Linked DNA regions of Homo sapiens: all the other regions are linked to region 1. Evidence: promoter capture Hi-C in 16 types of primary human blood cells and fetal thymus (Javierre and others, 2016). All regions are on one chromosome and are shown on one strand. The core of a region is centred on a gene start or on the middle of the fragment in contact, and the rest is flanking DNA. Distances in the headings are between cores, read along the strand shown. Region 1 holds the start of ATP1B2 (ATPase Na+/K+ transporting subunit beta 2). Region 2 holds the start of ALOXE3 (arachidonate epidermal lipoxygenase 3). Region 3 overlaps GUCY2D (guanylate cyclase 2D, retinal). Region 4 has its middle 34 kb from the start of CNTROB.

Region 1 (3,734 bases), core at 546-3,045:
CAACCTCCACCTTCCAGGTTCAAGCAATTCTCTTGCCTCAGCCTCCTGAGTAGCTGGGATTACAGGCTCCCACCACCGCACCCGGCTAATTTTTTTAGTTTTAGTAGAGACGCAGTTTCACCATGTTGGCCAGGCTGGTCTTGAACTCCTGACCTCTGGTCTCGAACTCCCTTGCTCAGGTGATCCATTGGCCTCGGCCTCCTATAGAGCTGGGATTACAGGCATGAGCCACTGGGCCTGGCCGAGATAATGATTTTTTTTTTCTCTCTTTTTTTGAGACGAAGTCTCACTCTATTGCCCAAGCTGGAGTGCAATGGCGTGATCTCAGCTCACTGCAAGCTCCGCCTCCCGGGTTCAAGCAATTCTCCTGCTTCAGCCTCCTGAGTAGCTGGGACTACAGGCACCCACCACCATGCCCAGCTAATTTTTTTTTTTTTTTTTATTGAGACGGAAGCTCTGTTGCCCAGGCTGGAGTGCAGTGGAGCGATCTCGGCTCACTGCAAGCTCCGCCTCCCGGGTTCATGCCATTCTCCTGCCTCAGCCTCCCAAGTAGCTGGGACTACAAGCTCCCGCCACGACGCCCAGCTAATTTTTTTTTTTTGTATTTTTAGTAGGGACGGGGTTTCACTGTGTTATCCAGGATGGTCTCGATCTCCTGACCTCGTGATCCACCCACCTCGGCCTCCCAAAGTGCTGGGATTACTGGCGTGAGCCACCGCGCCTGGCCTAATTTTGCATTTTTAAGTAGAGACGGGGTTTCACCATGTGGGCAAGGCTAGTCTCGAACTCCTGACTTCGTGATCTGCCCGCCTCGGCCTCCCAAAATGCTGGGATTACAGGCATAAGCCACCGTGCCCGGCTTGAGATAATGATTCTTAACATGTGGTATGTAGAGCAAGTGTACTCCCGCCCTAGACTGTGAGCCCCGTGAGAGATGTGGCTTCAGTGTAACCTCTCTGGCCTCCCCAGGGCTACAGCACACAGTCTATAGAGGTGCTCAATAAATGTTTGTTGACCCAAGTAGACACATAAGGAGGTGAGTTCCGACGTGGGGGTGGGGGTGCCAGGAGGCAGAGAACCGAAGTAGACCTGGCTGCAGGGCTGGGATCTCAGGGCAGTGCTGGGGACTGGGAATGTGGTGTTGAGAGGGCTTCAGGGAGACGTGATGGGAAGATGGGGAAGCCTCTGCACGTGGACAGAGCCAGGTGGTGTGGACAGGGGCTGTGAGATTGGAGAAGGAGGCGTCTGGGGGACTGGTAGCGGCTCCCAACAGGGGAACGTCCCTCTGGGGGTGGCCTTTATCCATCTCTGCGGGGCCTGTCCTAGCTTCCCTCCTGGCTCGGCCAGCCTCCCGGCTGGTCTCTTCGCTCTCTTTCTTGATCTCTAGCTCTTTATTCCTCTGACATTCTGCCCCATCTGCTCCCGGACTCTTCCGCCGCATCTGTATCTTAGTCTCTTTCTAACTCCCTGCCTGGGGCCCCCACCTTTGAGCATATATCGGCTTCTCTCTCTGCCGTTGTGTTTCTCTGGGGTTATCTTTCCCTCTACTCCGCCCGGACACGCCCTCTATCTCTTCCTCCCACCCTGTCCCAGTCTAGTACCTGGGGTGGGGGTAATGGAGAGACAGCTAGGTCCCTAAGAGAAGTCAGGGGGGCGGGCCCAACCTCTCCATATTTACATATGTATGAGGTCGCCTGGGCCAGTGGCGAGGAGGCGGAGCTTCTGGGGGTGGGAAGGGGGCGGGCACCCCCAGAGCCGCAGAGTATAAAGACCGCGCTCGGCGACCGCGGGCCTCGCACTGCTGAGGAGCGGAGCCTCCGCCTGGGGGGCCCCCCATCCCTGGCTGTCCCCCAGCTGCGCGTCCCCGCCCCACCCCCGCGGCTGAGCCACCACCGGTGCAGTGGTCTCCGCTTGGCGGAGCGAGCCTTGAGCTTCGTTCCACAGCTTCTTTGCATCTTGGATTTCGGGGCGGCCCCCTCCCCCACCTCTCTCTGCCTTTTTGTACCCCGCTTTTTTTCTGCGTTCTGCTCGGTTTTTGTAGCCGTCTGTTTTTGCACCCCATTTCGTTTTGTTTCTAGACGGTTTGGTGGGGGGTGAAGCTGCATTCATACCCCTTCCTCTTGTTATTCTCCCCTGCTCTGACAGCACCCCTTTTCATCGCAGTTGGGGGGCCTAGGATCGGTGCATCTTCCGCCGCGCTGCCAGCACCCCGCAGCGCGTGGTCGTGCACCCCGGAATCTGCAGCAGCTGCATATCTGAGGGGGGTCTCCTTTGCCCGCGCCGCCTTCGCTCCCCGTGCTTTTGGGTGTGTGGAGGGCTTCAGCGCGCGGCGCCCCCGCTTCTCCGCAACCCCCCGCCCCGCGCCCGGACTCGCCCCGCGCCACCAAGATGGTCATCCAGAAAGAGAAGAAGAGCTGCGGGCAGGTGGTTGAGGAGTGGAAGGAGTTCGTGTGGAACCCGAGGACGCACCAGTTTATGGGCCGCACCGGGACCAGCTGGGGTACGCAGGGCCGGCACGCAAGGGGCGGGGGAAAGCCGCGGGGCGACGCCTCGGGGGCGCAGGGTCCCGCCGACGCGGCCCCAGCTCCCCTCCCGGGTCCCCGGCGTCCAGCCTCCCTGCCGGGCTCTGGGCTGGGAGGGGGCCGAATCGCCAGTCTAATCTCCCCGGCTGGCCGTGCGGAGGCGGAGAAAGTAGGTCACAGCCGCCTTCCCGCCCCCCGCGGAGCCCCCTCGGGCGGGGGGTCGCCAGCTCCGCCTGCGTGTCCGCGCCGGCGCTCACACTCCCTCTCGGGGCCTGTCCGCTCCACACGGGCGTCCCCCACCTCCAAAGAGCGCCCCTTCCCTCCCTCCGGCTCTCACTAGCTCCGCAGCCCCGTCTATTTTTAGCTCGTGCCCACCCCCTGGACCCTGGGAACGTTCATGAGGGGGCGGGTCTTGGGGGGTGTGTTAGGGGGGTTCTTCACGGCGGAAGTTGTCTGTATCCCACCGCCTGGCCTTGGGAGCCTTCTGGGACTGCTTTGTGGGTTGGGGGGCTGCTGATAGTATGAGTTTTACCGAGGCTGCAGGTTTTGCTCCCATGTCGGTGACGGAGGGAGGAGTGGTCGCTGTGGTGATTTGTGTGCATCAGCCAGCCAGGTGTCTGTGACAGTCGGATGACTTGGAAGCCTCCCCAGGCTGACCATGGCAGGACTCAGGGAGCTGTAGTGGTCGGGGGTTGGGGGGGTGGAGGGGGTCTGGTGACCGGCACAGGTGCAGGTGAGGGGTGGAATTCTTCCAAGAGGGATGGTCAAGCTGGGACGTTGAGACACAGGGGACAGAGGACACTGTGTGACACGATTTACAATCTTTCCACACTGGGCACCGTCCCCATCAGTCCACCCATTCGGGGCCTACACGAAGTGGGTCCCATGCAATCCATTCCCTCAGGGAACTCAAACTCCAGCCCCTGGGATGAGAAGAATCCAGCAATGCTTGGGAGAGCCAGAGGACTTCATGGAAGAAGTGTCCTCTGAGATGGAAGGATTGGGAGTCCAGGGTGGTGGGAACAGCCGGCCCTTGGGTCCTTACTTCAGGCGGGGGAGCCATGGAGAGATCCCACCAAGGGAAGGCTGTGGGAGATTCTGCCTTTCCTCCCTGCCTCTGCCCAGGGTGCTGGGTGTGAACTGAGGGTGGGGTGACTGTTGAAGGTTCTAACAAGCCGTCTCTGAGAGATTTGTAGCTAGGCTAGTGTTAGG
Region 2 (3,734 bases), core at 437-2,936, 470 kb after region 1:
GGGGAAGTGGGATACACTACCATCCGGTTCGGTGACACAGATGCGGCTACAGTACCAAGAGTCCTTGCGGAAGAAAGCGTAGCGCTCCTTGTGTACACGCAGCAGCAAGAGCTCACCCAGCTCCGCTGTGCAACGCACCTTGTACTTCTGTACCTGAGGGGACCAAGACAGCAAGCAGGTGAGAGGCGGGGAACTGCCAAGGCGGTCCTTGCGCCTTGCAAGATGCATCTACACCTAAGCCTATTCGGGCATACAAACCTGAGCTGCTCCCAGCCCATACCGGGCTTTTGTATGAATTAGAAAAAGCTTCCCCGGGCCGGGAGAGGTGGCTCACGCCTGTAATCCTAACACTTTGGGAGGCCGAGGCGGGTGGATCACCTGAGGTCAGGAGTTTGAGACCAGCCTGCCCGATGAAACCGCTTCTCTACTAAAAATACAAAAAATTAGTCGGGCGTCGTGGCAGGCGCCTGTAATCCCAGCTACTTGGGAGGCTGAGGCAGGAGAATCGCTTAAACCCGGGAGGTGGAGGTTGCAGTGACCTGAGATCACACCACTGCCCTCCAGCCTGGGCAACAAGAGCAAAACTCCATCTCAAAAAGAAAAGAAAAAGGTGCCCGAGCACAGTGGGCACTGCATTTCACTAGCTTCCTAGGCCGGCTGGGAACTCTTGTGGAGGCCACCTGGGGCTGGCAGAGGCAGGCAGATCCCCTCGATAAGAGGAAACCCAGGCTCAGAGAGGGGAAGCGACTTGCCCAAAGCCCACGGTCAATTATGGGAGGAGTTTAGGAGCCAGGGGAAGTCCCTCTACTCCCTGTCCAACGCTCCTTCCTCTCCACAGTCCTGCCTGGATGGAGTTCATCATCTCCAGGAAAGACAGGGACCTCAATAGGGAAGGTGAGGAGGTCAGGGCCGGTATCCTGAGTTCAGCAGGATCTCAAGAGTCCAGGAGGAATACTCCTCCCGCCTGCGGCCCCTGCCCCTCTGAGGTCGCGCTTCCCTGTCTCCTTTGTACTCACCGATCCAGGGGCGAAGTCCCTGCCCATTCGATCTAGCCGCTGCTTGGGGCTTTCACCACACGTGCCCACCAGTGTGACAGAGATGTTGTCCAGTGTGCCGGCCCTCAGGTAGGGACCAGTGGTCACACACAGGCGGTACACTGCCATGATGGGAAGGAGGAAGGGATGCCCCGGCAACGCTGGCCGCAGCAGCAGCCGGCCTGGAGGAGAAGAGCGGCACGCCGGACAGGGCTGGGTTTCTGGGCGGAGGGCTAGGGGCTGCGGGGCTGGGTAGGGCTGAGGATGGGCCCAGCTCTCTCTGGGATGTTCCTGGGCTTTCTCTCTCCGAAGCTCCCTGCTGGCGGCTCGGGCTTCCTCTCTCCGCCCACAGTCTTGCACTCTAATACTTGTTTGCTTGCCTCTGACACAGCCGGTCCCTCTGGCTGGCTCACCCAGATGGATATCAGGAGCCTGGGTTCCACTGCGGAGGGAGGGATCAGATGCTGAGATGGAGAAAAGGAGGTAACGCCTGTATAATTGGGACACTGCCCTCCGCCTGGTCAGCGGCCCGGACTGATGCCCTGGAGTGCTTGTCCGCCCACTCCCCAATGTCCCCCAAGATCTGTTCCTCCCCATTCCCAGGCAGAGATGAGCACAGGGCACCTGCATTCCTACGTGTGAATCATCCGTGTGAATCACTAAACAGTGGAGAGTTGCACTTGGTCATAAATCACACGTGACTGCAGCCACACGCAGGTGAGTCGCACACGCATTCCAGCACATGTCAAATGGTCAGGAACAGCTCCCTGTCACCCCATACACCGATCCCCCCACGCATGGCCCTCTTTGTCCCCAGCCTTTGGCACGCCCGACCTCATTCTCTGCTCTGGAGTAGGGCAGGTCAGGAAAGCGAAATACAGCGCCGGCAAACAGGGTCTGAATGCCCCGCGTGGCATTCTTTCCGCTCCAGGACCGCCCTGGGCCTGCAGGATCCTGGGCGGGAGCCCAGGTGTCCGGGATCTGGGCCACTAGGGACTGGGGAGGAACCTCTCAGAGAAGCCCATAGCCCGCAGCGGCCCCGCGCGGCCGGTTCCGGCGCCGCACTGTTCCAGCCTCTACTATGGTACAGTCCCTGCGTCGCAGCCTCGGCGGGGGCTCTAAGAACGGGAGGCAGAAAAAGCTCAATCAGCAGCAGGCGAGCTTCACCCGCTGCTTCCAAATCTGTGCCAAAATATTCTATGCTGCACAGATAAAATCCTCTGTCGGTTCTACAAGCCTGGCTTTTCCTATAGAGAACCCTCTTATAAGCAAAAAGTAAAGCTCTCGTGAAGAGCCCGGATAGCTCAGTCGGTAGAGCATCAGACTTTTAATCTGAGGGTCCAGGGTTCAAGTCCCTGTTCGGGCGGCATGTCTTTGCTTTTGGGTACCGCACTTCGCATAAAATGGTAACAAAAATAGTTACTAGTTTTTAAAGCTAGGTGATACAGAAACTTGATTTCCACAAAATACAGCAAACGACGGTGGAGGGTAATAAACATACTTTAAAACAGTACAAACGCGAGCCGTATTATCGAATTTACATTTTCTGGTAGCCACATTACAAAGAATAAAAAGCAAGCGAAATTAATTTCACGGATCTATTTTACTTACCCTAATATACCAAAATCTTATTTTAACATATAATCAACATTCTAAAAATATTAATGAAATTTTAAGTCTTTTTGTTTGTACAAAGCCTTCCTTCAAAAGAAGATGTGTATTTAGAAGCTGGCAATACATCTGAATTCATATATTTCAAGTGCTCGATAACGGTGTCTACCATATCCAACAGCAGACTTTGTTTTGTTTTCGTTTTAAGTGACGGGTGTGGAAGACACGCAAAATAGAATGTCCAGTAATGTACACAATCTTGAAAGACACCACGAGGGAGGTTCCATGGTGTAATGGTTAGCACTCTGGACTCTGAATCCAGCGATCCGAGTTCAAATCTCGGTGGAACCTTGAAGCTTTTCTTTTAATATCAGCATGTTGAATATTGTTAATTGATTTTCACAGAGGGGATACTCCTATGACCCAAGATAATACGACAAAAAAAAAAAGTAAACTAGGACACTACCAATTATTTGTGCTTTTCCTACCGGATAATTGAGTCCTATAACACAGTGTTAAGAGAACGTACAATAAATTATTTAAATATGTTGGAAGTTGAGCTAACATTTGAAAACATGTTAAAATAGAGATGTTATGAAGAAACGAAATAATAGAGATGTTATGAAGAAACGAAATATTGCTTCAGCAGTTACCATCAGGTCTTAGCTTCTGGGATGGATGCAGGCCTATGATCTCTCTGGAAGACCAAACACGGAAGATGATGGTGAAACCATTACCAGGGGAATTCGTAAAATTACTTTCTGCATGTAAATAGGTGTAACCTCACAGAACTGTTAACAGAACTGTAGCAGGTGCGTAATCCACCAGAAAAACTCCAGCCTGGCAGCGGTGGGATTCGAACCCACGCCTCCGAAGAGACTGGAGCCTAAATCCAGCGCCTTAGACCGCTCGGCCACGCTACCTGCACGAAAACTTACTGTCCCCGTTGTCCTCCTAAGAGACTAGAAGTAAGGAATGGGGCAAATCTTAAGAGTGCCAAATTGATTCGTCTCCTTTTCCACATCTTTTAGACTGGAAATGAAGAACCATCGAGACTGTGGACCGCATAGCAGCAGATGGCAGAACAGA
Region 3 (3,734 bases), core at 383-2,882, 370 kb after region 1:
CCGCGTCCCCTCTGCTGCCTGCAGAACGTCCCACCCAAGCCAGGTGTCCCGATCCCTTTCTGACTTAGAGAGCCCAGGCTGGTTCCTAAACCCCGGGGCTTCCCCTGGGAGGGAAGCAGCCATTGCAGGAATTTTGGTTCAGTAGATCTGGAGTGGTTTGGAAATCCAGGCTTAGGAAACTCCGTAATCGGGGCCTTCTGTGGCCCCTCCCCTGGCCCTATCTCATCCCCAGTGCATAAACCTGGCTTCCGCAGAAGCCTCACAGGCTGTGCACTGCACAAGAGACAACTCTAGGGGGCAGCAGTCACCAGAGAACAATGTGAAAGCAGAAGCCGTGCCCACTCCCCTCCTGCAAGAAACTGACCCGTGACCCGCTCCTTCCTAGGTGAACCCCCATGACCCCTTTCCTCGACTCCCCTCTGAGATACCCCTCTTTTCTTCAGGATTGTTCTGGAAGGTCCTTTTCCTGAAAGTTGCTGCTATAGGTGACTGGAAGTCTGTCTAATGCTGGTGGACTCTGCCCAGCTCTGCCTCAAAGGATTTTGGGCCTTTTACAAGAGCTGGTTGCAAAACCAGCCATGTGACCTTGGGAAAGTGTCACGCATGCTCTGCTGTGATCCCTTCAGTGGCAAAATGGGGGGTGGCCTAAGTGGTTCCCAAGGCCCCTGTGCACCTGACAGCTGGGTGGCTTGTGGCCCTCACCCCCAGGAGCCCTGAGTCCAGCAGGGGATGTGAGGGTCAGGGATTCTCCGCTTCCCAGTGTCTCTCAGGGACCCAGGAAGGAGGATCTGGGATTGATGCCCGACCCCAGAGGAAGTGGAGTTCTGTTCCACCAGAGCAGGGTTTGTCACATGGCCTGAGGGGGCAAGGGCTCCTGTTTAGCCTCAAGCTTCATTCCTATCTCCATCTCCCACCAGTCAGAAACTGGCTGCTTCTCCTGTGGGTATAATCAGGGAACTTGCCCAAGTGCAGAGAAAAGCTTGCTTCAATGCTTTGAGGAAAGGAAATTGTGCCACACCTTGACTGACCAGAACATCCAAAGAGCGGCATTCTCTGTTTAACTAGGAGCTGCTGAGCAAGCAGTTGGACAGAAAATCCTCTCTGCTTAGAATTTTTTCTTTTTTTTTGAGTCTCACTTTGTCACCCAGGCTGGAGTGCAGTGCAGTGACACAATCTCGACTCATTGCAACCTCCTCCTCTCAGGTTCAAGTGATTCTCCTACCTCAGCCTGCCGAGTAGCTGGGATTACAGGCACCCGCCACCACGCCCGGGTAATTTTTTTGTGTGATTTTAGTAGAGATGGGGTTTCAGCATGTTGCCCAGGGTGGTCTTGAACTGACATCAAGTGATCTGCCCACCTTGGCCTCCCAAAGTGCTGGGATTACAGGTGTGAGACACCGCGCCTGACCTTTGCAGCAATTATCAATGCCCTGTCCTGGCAAGTCCCCAGTTGAAGTTGCCTTTGTGAAACTCTGACCTTCCAGAGCCTGGGCCTTGGCACATTTGACTCTTGGTGTCTGTCACCATTGCTACAGACCCTGGAAGAAGTTTGCAGCAGGCTAGGAAACCACCTAGGCTGCCACCAGAGGTAGTGAGTGTCCAGTCCCTGGAGGTGTGAAGGCAGAACTGGAGACATCATTGACCAGGGATACGACAGTGAGAGGGAATTCCGGAACTGAACCTTCACTACACCAAGTGTGGTTGGTGGGCCAGGGTCGGCACTGCCTGTGAGCTCATTAGAAATGAAGGATCTCAGGGCCCCACCCCAGACCTGCTGAGTCTGGATCTGCATTTTAACAAGTTCCTACAAAATATTGACACGCTCATTAAAGTTTCTGAATCATAGAACTAAATCACCCTAAGATCTTTAAATCTTAGAATCTCTAAGATCTCATAAAGCCAGGCTACAAACTAGCCACCAAATTTCTTTTGTTTGGCCTATAGAGTGTTTTGTTTTGAGCTAACATTTAAAAATCAACAGCTTCCACATTTTAAAAATGTATAGCAGATTTCCCCCTTCTCTTGAAATCAGAAGCCCCACATGGTGCTTGTGTCACCACTTAACCACATTCTGCTGCAGCTAAACAGCAACAGTCCCCTTTATCCAGATGTCGCCACTCCCCACAGACTCCGAGACACCAAGATTTTTTGAACATTCCTTTATATTCCTGCCTGGTGCCTGTAGACATTGAGCTTAGGACTCCTTAGCAGGTATTAGGATTACAGGGGCTCCTGGACGGGACTTTGCCTTCTTTTTTTTTTTTTTAAACTGATTCATGACTTCCACAAGCTTAGTGGTATTCCCCTCCTTCCTAAAGGTGAAGGAAGAATGTATCAAACATCGAGAATCCAGCACTTGTAAGTTCTGGTTACCGAAGGTGATGTTGCTACAGAGAGCAATTTAGTGCAATTTTAAAAACATTTTAAATTGAATTTAAATACGATGAATTAAAGATTAAAAACAAAACAAAACCCGGGCATGCACACACACACATTTTTAAAAGTTATTTACATTCTTGAAGATTTTCCTTAAGATTTTCTCTGTACTTAGGTCCCAGGGATTGAAGCGCAGATTCACATCTCTGGCCTTGGACCTGACTGTGTGGATAGAGCTCTCAGCCTCCTGTCTCTTCCCTCCCGTACCCGACCCTGCAGCCCTTCCCCTTCCTTCCCTCTCTCCCTGCCTGCAAGGGCCTGGAGTAGTTAATGGTGTGTGATTTCGGCTGCCTCAAGGAAGAGTCCAGGATTAGGTGCAGAGGGATTAGCTGGGACAGGCTTAGGCAGGGCTCCTCCCGGAAGCAGAGGCGGATGAGCCAGAGGGCAGACCCAGTTTAAGGTAGAAGTGGAGTGGGCAGGGCTGAGCCAGTTCCTTCCCACCTTCACTCAGCCTCCTTCCCAGGCTGGCCTCAAGCTCAAGTGACCAGATGTGATAGAAGAGCCCTGACCCCTCCCCAGCTAGAAGAACTTGGGGAACCCCCACCCCAGAGTTCACAGATCTAGTGGGAGAAGAGAAGGCAAAAGATGAAGCCTCAGCCTCCTCTCTGTGCCTCAGCCTCTCCTTTCTCTGTTCCTGCCTCCCTTTCTGCTCTATTCTCCTGTCTTTGTGTCCCCACAGTCCCCTTTCTGCCTGGCAGTCTCTGTCTGCCTTTCTCTGCAGTTTCCACCATTTCTCTGGAAATCTTATTTCCTGGACCCAGTCGGTTATCCAGTCTCAGGGCTCTGCTGACTCAAGTCCTCCCCACCCTGTTCCTGTGGCCTGGGCAACTCCCAGCGCATGAGAGCACCGGGGCCTGGCTTGGTCACTGGGCATCCCCCACCTTCAGATGTGTTTACACTACCTCTGCCAGCTGGCCTGCGCCAGGAGCCCACACTTGCGGTTGTCCTTGCCTTGGAGATGGCTCTGTAGCTGGCAGAGCAGTGATGGCCAAAGCAGGGACCTCTCATAGCTGCTGCTTCAATCCCACGGCAGAGACTCTACAGCGTGTCCCGGGGCTCACCTGGCGCCTTTTTTTTTTTTTTTTTTTTTTTTGTGCTTCTCCTTAGGGTCTGGGCCCTGCTCCCTGTCCCATCTGCAGTGGACCCCAGGCACCCCCCTTTGAGGAGGTGGGGTGAACTGCTCCTTGGCAGGGATTTGTGACACTGCATTGCTGGGCTGTGTTCCTCGGGCTCTTCTGGACCTTGCACCGTGGATACCAGGCCATGTGCCATGGTATTTGGGTCCTGGGAGGGTGGGT
Region 4 (3,734 bases), core at 702-3,201, 320 kb after region 1:
TGGATAATTTTTTGTATTTTTTTAGTAGAGTTGGGGTTTCACCATGTTGGCCAGGCTGGTCTTGAACTCCTGACCTCGTGATTTGCCTTGCCCTCCCAAAGTGCTGGGATTACAGGTGTGAGTCACCGTGCCCAGCATTATATATATATATATTTTAAAAGGCTGGGCGTGGTAGCTCACACCTGTAATCACAGCATTTTGGGAGGCTGAGGCAGGCTTGCTTGAGGCCAGGAGTTTGAGACCAGCCTGGGCAATGTAGTGAGTTTAAAAAAAATTTTTTTTAATTTTATTGCTCTTTATATTGTAGTGTATTTTATTTTATTTTATTTATTTTGAGATGGAGTCTCGCTCTGTCACCCAGGCTGGAGTGCAATGGCGTGATCTTGGCTCACTGCAACCACTGCCTCCCACGTTCAAGTAATTCTCCTGTCTCAGCCTTCTGAGTAGCTGGGATTACAGGCACGCACCACCATGCCGGGTTAATTTTTGTATTTTTAGTAGAGACGGGATTTCACTACGTTGGTCAGGCTGGTCTCGAACTCCTGACCTCATGATCTGCCCGCCTCGGCCTCCCAAAGTGCTGGGATTACAGGCGTGAGCCACCACACCTGGCCTATATTACCTTTTAAATAAATTGTCTCATTTCCTTTGATGAAACAGATTTTTATCATCACACCTAATGAAACAGCATAAAAAATAGTTTACATGGTAATCTCATAAATTAGTAGATATGCAAACATTCTAAATAAAATTTTAGCAATCAGAATATAGTATAAATTTTAATAAAGTATAATTTTTAAAGGAATTTTAAAGGTGTGGTAGCTCACACCTGTAATCCCAAAAGTGTGAGAGGCTGAGGCGCAAGAATCGATTGAGCTCTGGAGTTCCATACCTGGGCAACATAGCAGACCTCATCTGTACTAAAAATAGTCCCAGCTACTCTGGAAACTGAGGCGGGAGGATTGCTTGAGCTCGGGAGATTGAGATCAGTGCTATCATCATGCCACTGCAGTCCACCCTGGGTGACAGAGTAAGACCCTGTCTCAAAAAAGAAGAAAAAAAGAACATGTACTTTTTAACCAATTCTGTTTTTGAACTTATTTCAAATGGTCTTTCATTTTTGTTTTTCTGTCACTTATAAACATCCCCCACTAAAGCTCAATTTTCCACATAACCAATAATATTATTGGAAAAAATTCATATAATTATTTCCACAAATGCCAGAGGGAATTCTTCATGGAAACTCTCCCTAAAAGCAATAAAAGGTTGCCTCTTTAACATGACAAAAAGGCTCTATTGAAAACCAAAAGTCAAAATTACACTTAATGGAGAACATGAATTATTCCTCTTTAAAATAGGAACAAGACAAGGATATCTTATTACTACTATTCAACGTAGCTCTAAAAATTCTGACAAAGCTATTTGAGAAGAGAAAGAAAGATATACATAAAGAAAAGGAAGAAATAAAATGATCATGTTATGCAAATGAAATGAAAAGCACCTCAAAATTACTAGAGATAATAAATGAAGGCATCAAAGAAACAAGATATAATACAAATTAATTTAGGACAATTTTCCTCTTGATAATAGTGCATTTCTCATTTTTGTTCTTTCTTTCCATGCATCCCTTTCTGTTTTTATTCTTAAAGCTTCATGATTTTACAATTTATAAGTCCTGAACATTTTGTGTTAATCTTTTCTCAGATATTTTAAAGATTTTTTAATCGCTTTTATAAATGGAATTTTTTTTGACATTACATGTACTTTATTTTTCTTAAGTGTTTAAAATAAGGCATTTCGGCCAGGCACGGTCGCTCACGCCTGTAATCCTAGCACTTTGGGAGGCTGAGGCCTCCTCAGGTGGATCACCTGACGTCAGGAGTTCGAGATGAGCCTGGCCAACATGGTGAAGCCCTGTCTCCACTAAAAATACAAAAATTAGCTGGGCATGGTGGCATACACCTGTAATCCCAGCTACTTGGGAGGCTGAGGCAGGAAAATCGCTTGAACCCAGGAGGCGGAGGTAGCAATGATCCGAGATCGTGCCACGGAACTCCAGCTTGAGCAACAGAGACAGACTCTGCCTCAAAAAGAAAAAAAAAAAGGCATTTCTTTTGTAATCTAATTATAACATTTGCAGTTATTTGGAATTGTCTTTCATTTCTGTTTTTCTGTCACTTATAAACATCAGTCATTCACAATGACTAATGATAGAGGTACATCACGTAAGTATAGATGTAAAGTATTGTTTAAGAAAGCTTAGGTATTTATTTTTCGGGCTTTCATGTTGTTATGCTGTTCCTACTCTTCTTCTTCTTCTGTTTTTGTTTTGTTTTGTTTTGTTTTTTTGAGAAAGAGTCTTGCTCTGTTGTCCAGACTGGAGTGCAGTGGTGCAATCTTGGCTCACTGCAACCTCCGCCTCCCATGTTCAAGCGATTCTCCTGCCTCAGCCTCCTGAGTAGCTGGGATTACAGGCATGCGCCACCATGCCAGGCTAATTTTTGTATTCTTAGTAGAGACAGGGTTTTGCCATATTGGCCAGGGTGGTCTTGAACTCTGACCTCAGGTGATCCACCTGCCTCGGGCTCCTAAAGTGCTGGGACTACAGGTGTGAGCCACTGGGCCCAGCCTGTTCCCATTTTTCCATTGTTCTTCTCCTCCCCTCATTTTCTTTTTCTTTTTTTTTTCTTCTTTGAGACGGAGTCTCAGTCTGTCGCCCAGGCTGGAGTGCAGTGGCACGACTTGGCTCACTGCAACCTCCGCCTCCCGGGTTCACACCATTCTCCTGCCTCAGCCTCCCGAGTAGCTGCGACTATAAGCGCCTGCCACCACGCCCGGCTAAATTTTTTTTGTATTTTTAATAGAGACGGGGTTTCACTATGTTGGTCAGGCTGGTCTCGAACCCCTGACCTCTTGATCCACTCGCCTCGGCCTCCCAAAGTGCTGGGATTACAGGCGTGAGCCACCGCACCCGGACCCTCCTCTCATTTTCTTTTCTGGTGTCTTGAACCAGGTAACTGGGAGGCATATTAAGGGGTTTTAAATTTAGGTAATAAAACAAATCACTAGTTCCTGGTATACAGCACTAGATTTGGTTACAGAAGTTTTTGCTAACCATTACCTCTGGTTTCAGGCAGTTGTCAGGTGACTGGCCTCAGGATAACATATTGCTCTATGTATTGCTATGTGACAAACCACCCCAAAACTTCGTGGCTTCAGCAAAAATATGTGATTGTTGCTCATGGTTCTGTGGGTTGCTGGACTTAACCTGATAACTCTCACTCAGGATTTGCAGTGTCAGCCAATCTGAAGCCTCAACTCCGCTGGACAGTCTGGGATCTGATGCTATCTTCAAGTGGATAGTGTCAGAATTGAATTGAATTATTGACACCCAGCTAGTATCTGCTGCAGAACTGCTTGATGTGTGGGGACCTCTCACTCCAACACACACACACACACACACATATTTTGGTGTCAGAAACATCATAAGTGTTGATATTTCCTATCTCAAATAGTAGCCACCTTTGGAGACTATCTACTGCACTTACATGAGTTGCAAAACTACTTGAGACAGAACCAGGCCAACGAGGGATAGTTGTTTTTTTGTTTGTTTGTTTGCTTTGTTTTTTGTTTTGTTCTGAGATGGAGTTTCCCTCTTGTTGCCCAGGCTGGAGTGCAATGATGTGATCTCGCCTCACCACAACCTCCACCTCCTGTGTTCAAGCGATTCTCCT

Evidence for each region. Contacts are between HindIII fragments. The CHiCAGO score rates a contact against its expected background, and 5 or more counts as called.
Region 2: a contact is called between the fragment with the promoter of ALOXE3 here and the fragment with the promoter of ATP1B2 in region 1, in 1 of 17 cell types (naive CD8 T cells). The highest score is 6.7, in naive CD8 T cells.
Region 3: a contact is called between a fragment that was not itself captured here and the fragment with the promoter of ATP1B2 in region 1, in 1 of 17 cell types (activated CD4 T cells). The highest score is 6.1, in activated CD4 T cells.
Region 4: a fragment that was not itself captured here is called in contact with the fragment with the promoter of ATP1B2 in region 1 in 1 of 17 cell types (activated CD4 T cells); the score reaches 6.1 in activated CD4 T cells.

Annotation. Positions count from the first base shown.
Region 1 is chr17:7,649,131-7,652,864 of GRCh38, forward strand. ATP1B2 (ATPase Na+/K+ transporting subunit beta 2) reads left to right here and starts at 1,796. Exons shown (of 7, transcript NM_001678.5): 1 at 1,796-2,500. The coding sequence starts at 2,389. RefSeq lists enhancers at 448-948, 949-1,449, 1,724-2,366 and a silencer at 1,706-1,855. The HindIII fragment of the contact is 15,564 bases long and covers 1-3,734 here.
Region 2 is chr17:8,116,828-8,120,561 of GRCh38, forward strand. ALOXE3 (arachidonate epidermal lipoxygenase 3) reads right to left here and starts at 1,687. Exons shown (of 16, transcript NM_021628.3): 1 at 1,659-1,687; 2 at 1,017-1,476; 3 at 1-153. The coding sequence starts at 1,163. It overlaps TRK-TTT3-5 (tRNA-Lys (anticodon TTT) 3-5), which reads left to right and starts at 2,328; the gene lies at 2,328-2,400. It overlaps TRQ-CTG1-5 (tRNA-Gln (anticodon CTG) 1-5), which reads left to right and starts at 2,925; the gene lies at 2,925-2,996. It overlaps TRL-TAG1-1 (tRNA-Leu (anticodon TAG) 1-1), which reads right to left and starts at 3,568; the gene lies at 3,487-3,568. RefSeq lists enhancers at 853-2,052, 1,774-1,853, 1,934-2,003, 2,154-2,253 and silencers at 2,774-2,823, 2,954-3,043, 3,414-3,623. The HindIII fragment of the contact is 2,695 bases long and covers 305-2,999 here.
Region 3 is chr17:8,016,585-8,020,318 of GRCh38, forward strand. GUCY2D (guanylate cyclase 2D, retinal) reads left to right here. Exons shown (of 20, transcript NM_000180.4): 20 at 3,544-3,734. Among named protein-coding and RNA genes, the nearest start is that of GUCY2D, 16 kb to the left of the region's middle. RefSeq lists a silencer at 151-331. The HindIII fragment of the contact is 1,311 bases long and covers 978-2,288 here.
Region 4 is chr17:7,964,649-7,968,382 of GRCh38, forward strand. No RefSeq gene overlaps it. Among named protein-coding and RNA genes, the nearest start is that of CNTROB, 34 kb to the left of the region's middle. RefSeq lists a silencer at 3,190-3,390. The HindIII fragment of the contact is 609 bases long and covers 1,648-2,256 here.